Regions from separate parts of the Homo sapiens genome. Here region 2 is linked to region 1. The links are contacts of gene promoters, found by promoter capture Hi-C in blood cells and fetal thymus (Javierre and others, 2016). All regions are on one chromosome and are shown on one strand. Each heading gives the region's core, a stretch centred on a gene start or on the middle of the fragment in contact. The rest is flanking DNA. Distances are from core to core; before and after follow the strand shown.

The links. Contacts are between HindIII fragments. The CHiCAGO score rates a contact against its expected background, and 5 or more counts as called.
Region 2: a fragment that was not itself captured here is called in contact with the fragment with the promoter of VIT in region 1 in 1 of 17 cell types (M1 macrophages); the score reaches 5.8 in M1 macrophages.

What each region holds. Positions count from the first base shown.
Region 1 is chr2:36,695,137-36,698,214 of GRCh38, forward strand. It overlaps VIT (vitrin), which reads left to right and starts at 1,571. Exons shown (of 16, transcript NM_053276.4): 1 at 1,571-1,837. All of the region lies in intron 2 of LOC124905990 (a long non-coding RNA gene), which reads right to left. The HindIII fragment of the contact is 1,435 bases long and covers 493-1,927 here.
Region 2 is chr2:36,455,144-36,458,221 of GRCh38, forward strand. The region is part of intron 4 of CRIM1 (cysteine rich transmembrane BMP regulator 1); the gene reads left to right. Among named protein-coding and RNA genes, the nearest start is that of CRIM1, 100 kb to the left of the region's middle. The HindIII fragment of the contact is 817 bases long and covers 1,067-1,883 here.

The DNA of each region.
Region 1 (3,078 bases), core at 321-2,820:
AGTAGTATTAGGAATAATGTGATTATGAATTATGCTTAGGCTGCCATTCTGAACCTGCCCTAATTCAAGTGGTAGGACAGGGGATCCTCAGTGTTACAGCATTATCATCCTTACCACCAAAGAACCTGGGCTCAGAATTTAGTGGAGGAATAAAGAGGATTGAGAAATAATTTCATTGCAGAACCAAAAGAAGTAAGGGTAAAAATGATTAAATAACATTCAAATCATTATCTCCCTTTTTTTAGTCTTCATGTTCCTTTAATGGAGGAAGATTCCTGATCAGTGTACAGTGATGTATTTATTTAACAGTGACCTGTGCAGAAATTACATACTATCCATCTAGATAGCTTGCTACACTTCGCCTATTGATGGAATCATTCCATTTATCAAGTTTTATACATCAAAAAGCTTTGAATTTCATCAGGCTCTTCATTAATTCACCTCTGAAAAAGTGGCATTTAATTTCAGCTACCATGTTTTATAGCATTAAAAAGCTTATGCATCTCTGCACAATGGCATTGAGCAGATGAATCCCACCCAGATTCACATAGTCACATTTGAGAGCTTTAGACCAGAGAGCTGGGCCAAAGTTACTCCTAATCAACACAGACTTCTTACCGTGAGAGCCTATCTTCTCGGCCACATTTTATATAGCCAATGAAGACGTGCCAGCAATCATCCCATGTATAACTTGGCATTAGAGCACAAGATCTGTCAAACAATTATCTTAAATAAGGAGCAGTTCCAGGGCCAACAGATGAGGACAGGAGGCTTCTCGAATGGAAGAAGGTTCTCCTCCCTAGCTGCGTGAGTGCACACTCCCCAGCAGGAGGAGGAATGACTCTTTGCTACCTTCTCCTGTGCTTGAAAACAGATGCTCTGCCACACTGATGGACACTGGAATCTCAAGATCTGCCAGATGTACTTTTTTTTGGTCTGATTTTTTTTTAATGATGTGATACGTTAATACACATTTTGAATCTGAATCTCTTAGATTTCATTGATGACACTAATATATAAATAACTAAAACTGGCAGATTTCATGTGAGATTATTCATCAGTATTTTTTTTGAAACATGAGTCAGGTTTTGCTTCCCACTATGATTATCTTGTGTCCTGTAACTACCAGCATATAATTGAGTCATTTCATAAAACTTGCCAAAACGCAGAAAGGACTGAAGCAAAACAAAACAAAAAAATAGCATTAATATGTAGGAAAAAGTACATATTTTCAATTCAAAAGTGGGAGTCCAGTAGAATAAGTTTGAGAGTGTTTGCACAGTTTTCCTTCTTTGTGCAGTTCAGTCCAGCTGTTCACTAGCTTTTGAAAAAGAAAGAAAAAATTGAATTGCCCCTGCTGAAGTAATTTTTAAAACATATCTTTTACTTTCCATTTTTATCTAAGTGGTCCTCCTCTACTTTTTAGAATGTCAAATTGTAGAATTTGCTTACTGAAAGTTTGTGCTTTGGGCTACAAAAGAATATTTAGAAATCCTTACAAAAAAAAAAAAAAAAAAAAGCAGTGGGAGTGGAAATTTGAAAGAGGACCGCCTAATTCAGCACTAAAACCAGTGTGAGAAGCAGTATGTGTGAGCATGTGTGTGTGTGTATGTGTGTGGGGGGGGGTGTAAAATGTGTTTTTCAAAGTACTGAGAGGTTGATGGGACTGTTCGATTAGCTCCTCTGAGAAGAAGAGAAAAGGTTCTTGGACCTCTCCCTGTTTCTTCCTTAGAATAATTTGGATGGGATTTGTGATGCAGGAAAGCCTAAGGGAAAAAGAATATTCATTCTGTGTGGTGAAAATTTTTTGAAAAAAAAATTGCCTTCTTCAAACAAGGTATGTCTGATGAATTTCTAAGCTGTGTATATAGTTACTTTCCATTCATTATCATTGAAACGTATTTGTCTTTAAGAAACTACAATACAAAGCTTGACCGAGTAAGCAAATTTCAGTTTCAAGAGAGTTGAGATGAAAGTGGATGGTACTTGGCATCCTTGTAAACAACTAGTAATATACATATATATTTATCAATTATAAATAAACTGCATTGATATTAATATTATAACAAGATTTTTACTGTTCCTTTAAACCAATTTAATTATGGTTACAAATAAGTTGAAAAGTATGACATTTGTGTAGAATTTTAAAGTAATTTAAGTCTCTATTATCTTGCTTTTTTAAAAACTTTGCTTGGAATATGTGGAATGTAATAGCAATATAGCAAATTGCTTATAAAGATTGTGAATGGCAGTATGAGAAATGGGCACATTGGTGCTAACTTAAAAGAGAAACTATTTCGTGTGGATCTCTACTTCTCTCTATTCAGACAGATTTCAGTGGAATGTGGCTAGATGTGCGATTCTGTGTCTTGTTTACACTTAAAGTGTTTTCTTAGGCTGAATGCTTCTGTTACTGATAAGCCCAACAAGGGGCTGGCATTGTTAAGTCTGCCATCGTAGCTCAGCTTTTCACAGGAAGACAGGATATGAAATCTCTTTTAAGTATGATTTGTGTCCAACTAGTATAAACATGAAATAAACGCCTCAAGCACAGGTTAAAGAGAGAGGATAAGACTGAATAATTAGACATGACAGTTTTCTCCAAACAACCCACAGCATCTTTGCCATTCCTAAATCAAGAGTGGAATTAAAAATTTTCTTTGGACTTATTGTAAAAATAAAAACAAGCATTCTTGGCCGTGGTGGTTGCTCAAAATTGCGTGTGCTAAGAAAATAGTATTTTGCCGTTACGTTGTGTTGCAATAAATTTGGAAGTTTTGGTGGTAAAGTTCTGAGGTTGTTTTTCCCTTGGTCTCTTGAAAGATGAAAACACCCTGCAGCAAAGCAGGATCAAACACTGTTTGTTTGTGTATTTTCTCTCTATGTGTGTTAGCTGCAAGTGGTAGCTAGTGCTGGTAGGAGAGCTGGAAGTGCCCATCTTTTATTTATTGAATTAAAATACCCTCTTTTGTACAAAAAGCTTTAGACAAAGAATTACAAGATTGCAAAGACTTGCATTTTTTTATTGCAATATGCTGGTTTCCCAGACTAAGCTTCATTTAAATATATCTTATGCCT
Region 2 (3,078 bases), core at 225-2,724, 240 kb before region 1:
ATGTGTGACTTCAGAGAGTTCAGAGAGCTGTGGCTGCAGGACTGAGTCACCGAAGTAGAGGGGGCAACAAGGGTCACTGGATTCCAAAAGATCAAGTGAGGCCAGAGTATTGAAAATACTTTGTCCACATAGACTCTCAAGCCTCTCAGATTATAATCATATAAAACAGCTAACAGGTGTTGTGTGCTTCTGTGTTCCAGGCACTATCCTGGGTGCTTTTCATCAGTTCGTTTAATCCACATAGCAGTCATATGATATGTGGGTACTTTAATCATCCCCACTGTACATAGGCTACAATTGAGGCTTAGAGAGATTACTTAACTTACTCAAGGTCACATAGTTCCTAAGCGGCCAGAACTTGAACCTAAGACTGTGTTGTTGCCAAAGTGCATTCCCCAAACCTCTGCCCTCTAAAGCGTTGGATAGGAGACAGAGTCACCGGAAGGGAAGGTTTGCATGAGAGAGGAAAGCAACCATGTGCAAGTAGCCAGTGGTCAACTTGGAGAATGCTGACCTCCCTTCCATCCCAGGTGAATAAGTGAGTAGGATGTGGGGATTCTCAGTCTCACTGGAGATGGCTATAAGGAAATAGAATCTTTAGGGGAGAGCCAGGTAAATGTTAGAAACAAATTCGAGTGGTGCATTGTGTGATATGTTCGGAGGATGGGGGAGTTTGTCTGCAGAGGAAAGTTTGGAGGAAGCAGGGGAGTCAGTTGGAAGGGATGAGTCCCAGAGCAGTGCTCTCTGGGGATGTGCATTCCTTGGAGGATGAGAGACAATACGGTCTTTCACTTTGCACTGATGACAAGGATGAGAGGCTGGGAATTGACTGCCCAAAGGAATCCAAGTGGATGCATGCTTAAAGTCATCTGTTTCAGCACTAGCTCAGGCCCCAGATGGTTCTGGCGGCCTGAAGGAGTGTTAGCAGCCAGGCAATGGAGGCTTTGCTCAGATTTTCAAGTAGAAGGTTAGTCCAGACATCGTTGGTGTTTGTTCTTTGTGTGCTCTGGGGAGAGGATTTAATAGTCAACCTCCCATTGTGTTCTCATTTGTGGTTATATATAAAAGCTTCCCTAAACTAAATTCCCTAAACTTAGGGCCAGAACCCTGTGTATCCCCAGCCGCAATCCAGCTTAGTACCTGCTGCATGTACACACTCGGTAAACAGCTACAAAATCATTACGTGTTCATAAACAAGCTGATTCATTGTTCCAAAGCATCTATTTTCTGAGGCAGTTGGAAATTCCACTCTGAAGTGGGAATAACCTATGTTGCTAAACTAAAACTTATTCTCCACTTCCCAGCCCAGTTCTCCTTTCCACAGCGTGATGTGCCAGTTTCCCTTCCTCCTTTTCCAAACTAGTCCTTCATGCAGCTCTCACTCCCATCCTGTCTTACTCTCTAAAGCCATCCTACCAGCCGTGAAAGCAGATGCCATTGTCTTCCCCTAGACCTACGGAAGTGAAGGCAGGGAGCCTTCCGTTCCTGGGACTTGGCCAGCTCTCGATGTGTGATATCGGATTGTTGAGCTGGACTGAGTGGCCCAGGATTTCTGCCAGATCCCAGCTGTAACATTTCAACAGGGGCACGGGCCCTGCGATTACTTTCAGCTGTGTTTCTGCTGTGTCTGTCTCCACCCCCCCACCACCCACCGCTGGGGTTGAGTCCCTTCAAAACTAACCCTGATTTTTTTTTTTTTTAGCCACTCACGTCAAGGTAGTAATTTGTGAAAGATGCCGTTGTTTTCTCCCCACCACACCTACTTTCTGTGGGGCAGAGTCCTAGAAGATAATTGTTAAATTCTTATAGGAACCACGTAGACTTACAACTTCTGTTCTCCTGCAGCTTATACCACTTTCCTTTCAACTTAGCACCTTAAGATAAGCTTCCGGAGCCACATGCCAGCCTCGAGGAGGAAGCTAGGAAGAGAAGAGCTTAATGGCTGCTTTATTATTATTACCAGTAGTAGGAAGGCAAGGGAATATTTTATTTTATTTTTATTTATTTTATAAATTTTTTATTTCCATAGGTTTTTGGGAAACAGGTAGTATTTGGTTACATAAGTTCTTTAGCGGTGATTTGTGAGATTTTGGGGCACCCATCACCTGAACAGTATACACTGAACCCAAACCTAATTGTCTTTAACTTATACCTTCCCTACATGTGAGCATGTCCTTTGATTCCTCCCCCCAGAAAAAAACAAAGCGTAAAACAACAACAACGAAAGGCAGAGTGATTTTTTCTGGTGGTCTTCAAAGGGAAAGTGTTGAAGAAGGTACAGTTTCTGCTCACTGTACACAGGGGAGGGATGGCTGCGGGGGGAGAGTGTGATCCCCAGGGCAGGGCTGCACTTGCTGTGGCTACAGCACATCTGTCAGTGTTAGGGGGTGTAAATGCCAGGAAATCACGCAGGAATAAGCTTGAGACAGGGGAGAAAGGGTGAAGGAGGGTTAGTTATTCATACACAGATAGTAGTAAATCTCTTATGGTGAGGCACGAGGAAAACTGTGAGCCTAAGGAACTTTCATAGGGAGGAGTGCTGTTTTCCATAAGAAGGGTTGGACCCTCAGATAGGAAACCTGTTTCTTTTTGGATATTTTATTTGCAGCCTTTAAAAAAAAAAAAACTTACACATTCCTGGAAAGAGTAAGAAATTTAATCAGTAGAAAGATAGTACATCGAATTTAATTAAAGTTGCAGCTACTTTTTATAGAATAGCACTGTGTTTTATATGTCATTATAATTTCCATTCCCGACAAGCTATTTCATTAACACACTGTGTAGAATCCTAGTAACACAAGGGCTTTGCCCTTTTTGCTCCTCATTTATCCTTGTTTCCTGACTAAAGGGCGACCTCCCACCCACCTGTAAGTAGTTTTTAATTTATAGGCGGTCATGTCTCCACTTTTGAAGGCCTCAAGCACTCACTTCCGGTGTGTAGTAGATCCAGTATTGAAAGAAATCTTTTCCAGAAGACCTCACTGACTTGTTTTCCTCTAGGATACGGGCAGAGGAAGATCAGAGTCTGCTGGGGAAGATGAGGAATATGATGGCTTGCTGCTTCCGAGCTGCCTCCTC